2 separate regions of the Homo sapiens genome follow, and region 2 is linked to region 1. The links are contacts of gene promoters, found by promoter capture Hi-C in blood cells and fetal thymus (Javierre and others, 2016). All regions are on one chromosome and are shown on one strand. Each heading gives the region's core, a stretch centred on a gene start or on the middle of the fragment in contact. The rest is flanking DNA. Distances are from core to core; before and after follow the strand shown.

Region 1 (5,765 bases), core at 1,088-3,587:
TACTTCTTCCTCCTCCTTAATTAGCAGTGTTTGGGTAAAACGTAATTATGTGAAGTTTTCTATATGGACCGCACTTTTACTGTCTTGTATTTAAATATAAAAGCCTTTTGCTTGAATTGCTTTTATGCCTGTCTCCATCCCAATCTTCCCTGGAAAGGCTTCCATGACTAGAGAAGCTGAGTTAAGGGCCTCTCTCTCCTCGATCCCAACTGCTAGAGTGTTCACTTTGAAAGATGGGCAGGAGTAGTATCCTATTCAGTGTTGTACTCCCAATGCCAGGTCAGTGCTAGGAAGTAAAGACATACAAAAAGGGTGAAACAAAGATCTCTAATTCCGTGGATGTATTCCCTCCTTTTGAGGACCTAACGATACTTTACTCTTATTTCTTTTTGGAGAAGTCTCTCTTATCCACATTCTAGAAGACTATAGGTAATATGAAACTAGTATTTCTGAGAAAAATGAAATACTAGAACGAGGCAGGGAAAACTGCCTGAACTGTATCTTTAACAGAAAACAAGGATGGAATGCTAGAAAAATAAACATAAAATGTTACATTACTAAGACAATCCAACAAATGAATAACACAACTTAAATTCACATTTTTTCCCTCCAAAATATTATTTCCTCTTTAAAAGATACACACAAATCTTGAATTACAACAAATCCATGGTAGATCTGGGTTTAGGCTATTAAGGGCAAAAAGGATTACATACTTGCCATATTCCTGTCCAAAATGTTGTGTTATGGAAATGAAGCCCACTCATTACTAAGTACTAGGAAGCTCTTAATGACCCAGGGTTAACATAATCTTTTCCTTTTCTGTAGAAATAATTCCAGCAAGGTGAGAGTATTTTCTTCTACTGAATGCTAAAATATGCTAGTTACATAAACTTTAAAAATGCCCTCATAAGAAGCTTTTTCACCAGCAAATTGTTTCCCCTAAATCTTACTGGCCTAAACTCTTAATAATAAAAGTTTTGTTTTAATAATTCTGTAAGTCCAGCTCCTTTCGGGTGGACAAAGAGGATATACAAGAGCATCTCTCAAAAGTAAACTATTTTATTCTCAATTGCCAGCTTACTGGTTAACTGGTCCTTTAAAGCTCTAGAAAGTGCAGGTTATCGAGCACAGACATAATCATTACAATACTGCTCAGGACTGCTCTGTCTCCAGCATGTTTACTAATCATAAACTAAATAGTCTTTTTTGTGACAGTAGAGATATCATGGATCGTTTCTATTCAAGAGTTTCATCATTCCTACTAATGCCCACTGGAATAATTTAAAGTAACAGTAATAACTTTATCTTATTTTGTTCAGAAAAAGCCCCAAGTTCCTTAAGTTCCTTAAGTACAAGTTGGAAGGCATCAAACATCTCGGATTTCTACCTCGTGCTAATGTCAAACTACTTGGAAAAAGGGCACAAGCTTCCTGGTCATTATTTAACTGATCATTATACAGTGACTATTAATCATCAAATAACACCCTATCTTCGTTCATAAACATAGCAACTACCAGTCAAACTGTACAATGTCAAAGAGTGGTTCTGAATTCGAATGTAATTAATCTGGCTCCAAAGGTAACGGAGAACTTTGAGTGGGACTGAGAAACCTCTGCCTCCCCTTTTACTAATACAATGCCGCGCACAAAGAAGGGAGGCGGCGACCCAGTTCCAGCCTCCGGGGGTAGATCTGCGGCGCACGGTACCCACTCAGTTATCTTCCGAAAGACCCACAAGCGGCTCCCGGAGTCTGAGCGGGGCTGTCAGCGCCGGATCGCTCCCAGCAGGCCGAGCAAACAAGCGACCGCGAGGCCAAGGAGCGTGACGACGGACTCCCGGATCCTAGTGTGTTGGACGCTCGAGACAAACACCGCAGGCCCCAGTGCATGAGGAGAAGCACAGCCTCCTTTCCCACGACCCCACTTTATCCCCGGAGGGACGTGGTGGTCCGAAGTTCGCTAGTCCGGGATCGGGAAGAGGTGGGGAAGACTCGCGCAGCGGCTCCCTCTCAGCCCTTGAGCTTCCCGGGCTCCAGGACAACCAGCGTCCTCCCTCCCTGGTCCCGGAGGCCAAAGACCACCTCCCTCCCTCCCTCCCGACCTCTGACCCCTGACCTTCCATCACCCAAGCGCCTACCCAAGCTGGTTCTCCGAGCCTCTTGAGTCTGTTTGCACCAGGCCTGCGCTCCTCTACAGACCCAGCAGATCACGGGCACGCATTCGCCACCCACCGAACATGGGCTTGAGGTGGGCACGAGCGCTTTTTGCCGGAACGTGTAGGGGTCCCCCGGGAGACCCAGAAACCACAGCGCCTAGCTGCCGGGCGCGCGCTGTAGCGTGGGGTCAAGGCGAACGCGCTCGTCAGAGCACCCCGCCCCCTTTCTCCTGCGCTGGCTTCATGAGTCTCTTCTGCGCAAGTTCACACTGTTAAAAACTTGCTGAGGATACAGTGGAGTCTCGCGATAGCTCTGCCCCACGCCATTAGAGAACACAGGATGGCCGAATGCCCGAAGTAGGGGGCGGGGCTCCCCTTGAAGCGAAGGGCGTGTGTGATTTGTATCTCTAATAAAAAGGCAGGGGCCAGGAGCGGTGGCTCACGCCTGTAATCCCACCACTTTGGGAGGCCGAGGCGGGCGGATTTCCTGAGGTCAGGAGTTGGAGAACAGCCTGGCCAAGATAGCGAAACCCCGTCTCTACTAAAAATACAAAAATTAGCCGGGCGTTGTGGTGCGCGCCTGTAGTACCCGCCTGTAGTCCCAGCTGCTCGGGAGGCTGAAGCAGGAGAATGCTTGAACCTGCGAGGCAGAGATTGAGTAAGCCGACATCTCCCCACTGGGTGATAGAATGAGACTCCGTCTCACAAAAGAAAAGCAGAAAAGAATTCTGCAAAAGCATCTATTTTACTGCTATAAAGCAGCCACTAAGTAGGTACGAATAAAGCTTCTCCCCCTCAAAAACAGACTTTAAAGGGAAATGTGAATAAATATTCAAAGATGAGAGAAACTATTAAATACATGTGTTGCGCTGAAGCTGGCCTTCCACTATTGGTCTTTTTTCCTCTCACCTCTTCCTCATAGAAGTGACCTTAATGTTGGAATAACTCTGAGAGGCTTCAGGGTCAGGAGCCTGTGAAATAACCCTCAGGAAACACTGGGGACTCAGTACTTAGTTAGTGAGTACCTAATAGCAGCTTTTCTGCTGTGGAGGCCTTTTGGGTTGTGTGACCACAGAAGCACTTGAACTAAGTTCTTGTCCAAGTGAATATCGGTTGTAGTTGTGTTAGACAGTCCAGGGTAGTCCATATTTTACTTAGTATATTCCTTTATCACAGATACGAAGCTGTTTCCATAAGCAAATCCCCGCCTCCTTTTATTTTGCTTCCCTTTATTGTACTTTGCAGATAATATGTTTTCCTATAAATTGAAGTTTTTTGGCAACCTTACTCAAGCAAGTCTGTCAGCATCATTTTTCAAGCAGCATGTGTTCACTTGCTGTTCATCTGTTATGGTGATCTATGATTAGTTATCTTTGATGTTACTATTGTAGTTTTTTGGGAGCATTACAAACTCTGCTCATAGAAGATGCTAAACTTAATAAATGTTGTGTGTGTTCTGAAAGCTTCACTATTGGCGCCTGTCTCTCTTCCTCTCTTCAGGCCTCCCTATTCTTTGAGACACAACAATATTGAAATTAGGCCAATTAATAACCCTACAATGGACTATTAAGTGTTCAAGTAAAAGGAAGGGTGGCACATCTCTCACTTTAAATCGAAAACCGAAGGAATTTAGTGAGGAAGCCATGTCAAAAGCTGAGATAAGCCAAAAGCTAGGCCTCTTGTACCAAAGTTAGCTAAGTTGTGAATGCAAAGGAAAAGTTCTAGAAGGGAATTAAAAGTGCTACTCCAATGAAAACACAAATGATAAGAAAACGAAACAGCCTCATGCTGATATGGAAAAAGTTTTAGTGGCCTGAATAAAAGATAAAACCAGCCTCAGCATTCCCTTAAGCCAAAGCCTAATCCAGAGCAAGGCCCTAACTTTTTTCAGTTCTGTGAAGGCTGAGAGAGGTGATGAAGCTGTAGCAGAAAAATGTGAAGCAAGCAGAGGTTGGTTCATGAGATTTAAGAAAAGAAGCCATCTCCATAACATCAAAGTACAAGGTGAAGGAGCAAGTGCTGATGTAGAAGCTGTGGCAAGTTTTTCAGAAGATCTAGCTAAAATAATTGAAGCAGGTGGCCACACAAAACAACAGATTTTCCATGTAGATAAGACAGCTTTCTATAGAAAGAAAAGGCCATCTAGGACTTTCATAGCTTCTAAGCTTCACAGGACAGGTTGACTCTCTTGTTAGGGGCTAATGCAGCTAATGACTTGAATTTGAGGCCAATACTCATTTATCATTCTGAAACTCCTAGGGCCCTAAAGAGTTATGCTAAATCTATTCTGTCTGTACTCTATAAATGGAACAATGAAGTGTGGATGACAGCACATCTACTTAACAGCATAGATGTACAGGATATTTTAAGCCCACTGTTCAGACCTACTGCTCAGAAAAAAAAAAGATTCCTTTCAAAATATTACTGCTCATTTATAATGCACCTGGTCACCCAAGAGCTCTGATGGAGATGTACAAGGAGATTAATGTTGTTTTCATGCCTGTTAACACAAAACCCATTCTGCAGCCCATGGATCAAGAGTAATTTTAACTTTGACATCTTATTATTTAAGAAGTAATAAGGCTATGGATGACATAGATAGGAATTCTTCTGATAGATCTAGACAAAGTAAATTAAAAACTTCTGGAAAACATCCACCATTCTGTATGTCATTAACAACATTTGAGATTGGTGGGAGAGGTCAAAATATCATTAATAGTAGTTTAGAAGAAGTTGATTCCATCTCTCAGGAACTCAAAGTCTCAGCTTTGAAGGGATTGAGACTTCAATGGAGGAAGTAACTGCAGATGTGGTGGAAACAGCAAGAGAGCTAGAATTAGAAGTGGGGTCTGAAGATATGACAGAACTGCTGCAATCTCATAGTAAAACTTTAATGGATGAAGAGTTACTTCTTATAGATAAGCCAAGAAACTGGTTTCCTGAGATGGAATATACTCCTGGGAAGATACTGTGAACGTTGTTGAAATGACAGCAAAGATTTTAAAATATTTCATAAATTTAGTGGACAAAGCAGTCCAGAGTTTAAGGGGATTGACTTGAGTTTTGAAAGAAGTTCTACTGTTGGTAAAATGCTATCAAAGAGCAGTTCATATCATGGAGGAATATTTTGTGAAATAAAGAGTCAATTGCTGCAGCCAACTTTTTTAAGCAATATTTTTTAAGCAAGATTTTTTTTAGCAATACAATATTTTTTAAGTTAAGGTAGATACTTTTTTTAGACATAATGCTATTGCACACTTAACACACTACATTGTAGTGTCAGTGTCACTTTTATATGCACTGGGAAACAAAAAAAATATCCTGTGACTTACTTTATTGCAATATTTGCCTTATTGTGGTAGCCTGGAACAAAACTTGTGATATCTCCAAGGTATGCCTATAGATGGAAATCAGTTACCTTATTCCAGGATTTATGAGGCAAGCTGGAAAAAGTAGTGCTAATGCTGGAACAGTGGGCAAGTAGGATCCTCCTTCCTTGGCAAACCAATCATTTTATCAAATACAAGGTGATGTAACCTTGCTTCTGAAAGTGTAATTTGCAACTTGCTATTTAAACATATGATGTGCTGAGTAAGGTTATCTTTGATAGT
Region 2 (5,765 bases), core at 1,880-4,379, 1.3 Mb after region 1:
GAGTGGTACATTGAATCTACATTGACACATCATTTTCATCCAAAGTCCATAGTTTATGATAGGGCTCATTCTTTGCACATTTTATGTGTTTAGACAAATATAATTACATGTCTTTCATCATTATAATATCATACAGAATATTCTCACTCTGCAGAGTTTTGTGCTGTTCTTCGTGTAGATCTTGTACATATTTGTTAGATTTATATTTAAGTATTTCATTTTTTGGGGTGCTAATATAAATTTCAAATAATTTCAAATTAATTATTTCAAATTCCACTGGTTCTTTTCTGGTATATAAGAAAATGAATGACTATGTTTTTTGGTTTTTTTTTCTTTTTTAGAGACAGTCTTGCTCTGTTTCCCAGGCTGGAGTGCAGTGGTACAAACACAGCTCACTGCAGCCTCGATCTCCTGGGCTCGAGCAATCCTTCCACCTCAGCCTCCTGAGTAACTGGGACCACAGGTGCACACCATCACACCCAACTAATTTTTAAATTTGTTGTAGAGACAAGGTCCTGGCATGTTGGCCAGGCTTGTCTTGAACTCCTGGGCTGCAGTGATCTCACATCCCAAAGTGCTGGGGTTTACTGGCATAAGCCACTGTGCCTGGGTGTGAATGAGTTTTGTATGTTAACCTTGCATATCCTGGCCACCTTGCTATAATCACATATTGGTTGCAGGAGTTTTTCTGTTCATTCTTTCTGATAGCTGCATAGTTGATCATGTTATCAATGAACAAAGAAAGTTTTCTTTCTTTCTTCCTAATCTATGTGCATACCTTTTATTTCCTTTGCTCATTGCATTAGCTGGTGCTCCCATTACAGTGTTGAAAGGCGTGATAAGAGGGATATCCTTGCCTTGTTTCTGATTGTAGTGGAGAAGCTTTGAGTGTTTTGCTATTAAGTGTGTTAGCTGTAGTTTTTATGTAGATGTTCTTTATCAAGTTGAGCAACTTCACCTGTATTCGTAGTTTACCGACAGTGTTTATCTGGAATGAGTGTTGGATTTTCTGCATCAGTTGATATAATCATGTGATTTTTCTTTTTTTAGAAAAATGTTTTCTAAATGTTTTCAAATGTTGAACTAGACTTGCATACCTGGTATAAATCCCATTTGGTCATGCTGTGTGATTCTTTTTATACACTGTTGAATTCAGTTTGGTAAAAATTGTATTGAGAATTTTTGCATCCATCTTCATGAGAAGGATTGATCTTAGTTTTCTTTTCTCGTAATGCCTTTGGTATTCATATTAGTGTAATGCTGGGCTCATAAAATGAGTTAGGATATATTTCCTCTGCCTTTATCTTCTGAAAGAGACTAGAAACTTGTTATAATTCACCAGTCAACCCATCTGGTCCTGGTACTTTCTATTTTGGGAATCTATTAATTGATTCAGTTTCTTTAATGTATAGAAGCCTATTCAGATTGTTTCTTCTTGTCTGAGTTTTGGTAGATTGTATTTTTTAAGGAGTTGGTCGGTCCATTTCATCTGTGTCATCAAAATTGTGGGCATAGATTTGTTTTTAGTATTCCTTTATTCTTTTAATGTCCATGGAAATTAAAGTGATGTCTGTCTTTCATTTCTGATGTTAGTAATTTGTGTCCCCTCTCCTTTTTCCTTAGCATGGCTAGAAGCTTGTTTTTTTTTTTTTTTTTTTTTGAAGGAAGCAGCTTTTAGTTTTGTTGATTTTTCTCTTTTGATCTCCTGTATTCAGTTTCACTGATTTCTTCCTTAACTGTTATTATTTATTTTCTTCTGTTTACTTTGGGTTCAGTTTCCTCTTCTTTTTGTAGTTTCTTAAAGCAGAAGTGATTGATTTTACCTGTTTCTTCTTTAATATATATGAATTCAATGCTATAAATTCCCTTTAAGTACTATTTTCTGTGTTTCCCATAAATTTTGATAAGTTGTTTTCATTTTTATTTAGTTCAAAACATTTAAAAAATTCTCTCTTAATATCTTTTTTGACCCAAGTGTTAATAGAATTGTTTTGTTTAATCTCTACATATTTTGGGATTTTCCAGCTCTCTTTTTGTTATCGATTTCTAGTTTACTTCCATTATGTTCCAAGAGCAGACATTGTATAGTTTCTATTCTTTCAAATTTTTTGAGGTATATTTTATGGCCCAGAATATATTCTGTCTTGGTTAATGTTCCATGTGAGTTTGAGAAGAATGTGTGTTTTGCTGTTATTGGATAACGTAGACTGTAGATGTCCATTATATCTAGTTGGTAAAGAATGGTGTTGAGTTCAGCTCTGTTGGCACTTTTTTTCTGCCTGCTGGATCTGTCCATTTCTGATAGAGGGATGTTAAAGTTTACAACTGTAATAGCGGATTCATATATTTCTCCTTGCAGTTTTATGAGTTTTTGTCTCATATATTTTGACACTCTGTTCTTAGGTGCATACACCTTAAGGATTGTTGTGGTTCTTGGAGAATTGACTCTTTTTTCATTTTGTAATGCCCCACTTTAATGACTTTCCTTGGTCTGAAGTCTGTGTCTGAAATTAATATAGCTACTTTGCTTTCTTTTGATTAGTGAAAGCATGGCATATCTTTCTTCATCTATTTACTTTTATTCTATATGTGTCTTTATATTTAAAGTGAATTTCTTGCAGACAGCGTATAGCTGGGTCTTAGTTTTAGATCCACTTTGACAATCTGTCTTTTAATTGGTGCATTTAGGCCATTGAAGTTTAAAGTGAATGTTGATATACTTCAAATAATACCTACCATATTTGTTACTGTTCTCTATTTGTTGCCCTTGTTTTTGTTTCTATTTTTGTTTCCCGTTCTTTTTATGCCTCTTGTGGTTTTAATTGACCATTTTATATGGTTCCACATTTTCTCTCCTTTCTTAGCATATCAGTTTCTTAGCATATCAGTTATACTTCTTTTATTTTTTTAAATAGTTGCTCTAGAATATGCAGTATATATTTACTGTTAATCTGGGTCTACTTTGAAAGAACACTGTACTGCTTCACAGGTCATATGAGTACCTTGTAATAACAAAAAGAAATTGTAATTCTTTACTCTGATCACTTATGTCATTGCTGTCATTCATTTCACCTATATATAAGCATATGTGTTTATATATGTAAACATACATAAACTGGATACATTGTTGCTGTTATTATTTTGAAGAAACTATTACTACTAGATCAGTTAAGAAACAGAAAAGTTTTTATTTTTGCCTCTATTTCTCTGATGCTGCCTTCCTTTATGTAGAGCTGAGTTTCTGATCTATGTCATTTTCTTTAAGAAAAAAACAACTTTGACATTTTTTGCAGCACAGGTCATTTTGTCAGTTTTTGTTTGAGCAAGTTTTCATTACTTCTTCAGTTTTGAAGGCTAATTTTGCAGTGTACAGAATTCCAGTTTTTTTTTTTTTAACTTTCTGCACTTTAAATGTTTTATTTCTCTCTCTTCTTGCCTGCATGGTTTCTTGTGAGAAGTCAGAAATAATTTTTATCTTTGCACCTCTGTTGGTAAGGGGTTTTTTTCCAATGGCTTCTTTCAAGATTTTTTTTTAATCTTTGGATTTCTGCAATTTGAATATAATATGTCTAGGTGTAGCTTTCTTTTTTTTTTTAGCATTTATTCTGCTTGGTATTTTCTTAGCTTCTCGAATTTGTGGTTGGTATCCGACATTGATTTAGAGGAAATTCACAGTCATTATTGCTTTAAATATTTCTTTCTGTTCCCTCTTCTCCTGGTTTTCCTGTTACATGTACGCCTTTTGTTGTTGTCTCTCTGTTCTCAGATACTCTGTTCTGTTTTTTTCCAGTTTTTTTTCTCTTTGCTTTTCAATTTTGGACATTTCTGTTGAGGTATCCTCAGGTTAAGAGACTATTTCCTTAGCTGTGTCCAGACTACTATGGAGTCTGTCAAAGGCATTCTTTACTTCTGTTAAAGTGTTTTTGGATTCTAGCATTTCTTTTTGACTGGTTCTTAGAATTTCCATCGTTCTGCTTATATTGCCCATCTGTTGTTTGGTATTGTGTACTTTATCCATTAGAGCCCTTAGCATATAAATCATGGTTGTTTTAAATTCCTAGTCTGATAATTGCAACATTACTGCCATTTCGAAGTCTGATTCTGATGCTTGCTCCATCTCTTCCAACTGTATTTTTTGCCTTTTAATTTTTTCCTGATATCGGGACATGATGTACTAAGTAAAAGGAACTGCTGCAAATAGGCCTTTGGTAATGGTGTGGGGGGAAGGGAAGTGTGCTATAGTCCTGTCATTAGGTGTCAGTTTTTTAGTGAGTCTGTGCTCTTGGACTGTGAACTTCAGGAGTGCTTCTTAATCTCTTCTCCCCACACTTCCTCCCACTCCCTTTTAGGTGGAATAAGATGGCTAAAGTGGGCTGGAGTTGCGTACTTCTCTTCCTTTACTTGGAAGGCTTGGGCCCACTGGAGTGATTTTTCTTCTCTCAGGTTAGTTGGTCCCTGATAAAACCCCAGCAGGTTAGGCTCTCGTAAAAGTGTTATTTCTGAAGGCAGTCCTTGTTGTTAAGAACAGAATATGCTCTTGCATATTTAAAAATGGTTGCCTTTTCTCTTCCCTCTGCTGGTAGCATGAGGGAATTTTCTCCAATATTCATTGTGAGAACCTGCTCAAGCTTTAGAGGTAAAATTTACAAAGATGTGGGGACATCTCTATGACTGGGTTCCCCTGGAGTTTTTGACTTTCTGACTTGCCTATTTTGAGCCTCCGGCTATTCCTCAGTTACAGTGCTTGCTTCCTTACCCGGACACAGGTTTTCACAGAGGTTTGTGCTTATGGGTTTCTGCTTTCAGCAAGTTGTGATTCTCTGTATCCACCTGTCTGTCTTTCCAGTTTGGGGGCAGTGGTTTTTCTTGTGTCTCACTTCTCTTACAGATCTTTAAGAAGAGTTGTTGATTTTCCAGTTTGTTCAGCTTTTTACTTCTTGTTAAGATAAAATGATTTCCATGCTCCTTACACACTACACTGGAAAAGAGAAGTTGATATTAACTTTTATTGGTGAAAACATAGGTGGTCTTCAAAAAGAGGTTTTAAAACTGACGTTTATCAAGTAGGTGCAACTATGGAATGGGGTACTCTAAAACTGTAATTAATCAGTTGGCAAAGGCTTTGGATTGCAAGCACATTCATAGCCCATAATATACAAAATGAAGTGCTCTTCATTATGTTCATCTTTGGTAAAGACTTACTAAACTGTTGTTTTGAGCATATTTCTATTAAGTCAGTCAGAAGCTAATTTAGATGAGAGTAGAAAATTATTAAACATTTGGAAAATAAGACCTGGGAGGAGATAGGGAATTCATGATTATTCAATTAGAAAAAAAGGAAATCAGAGAAGTTATTTAATAGATTATATGTATATAAATAGATTATTTAGGGAAGGTAATGCTTAATTATACTTATGTCCACAAGGTTTCCCAGTGTTTCTCAACTATGGCTATACATTAGAATAATTTGTGGAGCTGAAAAAACCAAAATGTACAAACAATGCCCAAACATGCTTGGATTTCTTCTTTAGAGCTTCTGATTCAGTGAGTATGGCAAGGGGCATGACATCTGTAATTTTTTGTTTTTTAAATCTTTGTGGATGCTTGTGATATAGAGCCAAAATTGAGAAATACTGGTTTAAGTGTTTGACAGGCTGGGTAGCAGTATTCTTAGGCAGATGGTAGAAAAGAAACATGTTAATTACTGTATATAGAGAGGATGTCGTTTTAAAGCAGTCATAACATCTTGAGATCTGTGGTGTAAC

What was found. The method cuts DNA at HindIII sites, captures the fragments that hold promoters and counts their contacts. A CHiCAGO score of 5 or more calls a contact.
Region 2: a fragment that was not itself captured here is called in contact with the fragment with the promoter of SHPRH in region 1 in 2 of 17 cell types (activated CD4 T cells and fetal thymus); the score reaches 5.3 in activated CD4 T cells.

Annotation. Positions count from the first base shown.
Region 1 is chr6:145,962,021-145,967,785 of GRCh38, forward strand. SHPRH (SNF2 histone linker PHD RING helicase) reads right to left here and starts at 2,338. Exons shown (of 30, transcript NM_001042683.3): 1 at 1,711-2,338. RefSeq lists enhancers at 1,855-1,984, 2,095-2,314, 2,226-3,213, 2,765-2,814. The HindIII fragment of the contact is 1,513 bases long and covers 1,425-2,937 here.
Region 2 is chr6:147,218,161-147,223,925 of GRCh38, forward strand. The region is part of intron 2 of STXBP5 (syntaxin binding protein 5); the gene reads left to right. Among named protein-coding and RNA genes, the nearest start is that of STXBP5-AS1, 16 kb to the left of the region's middle. The HindIII fragment of the contact is 2,993 bases long and covers 1,634-4,626 here.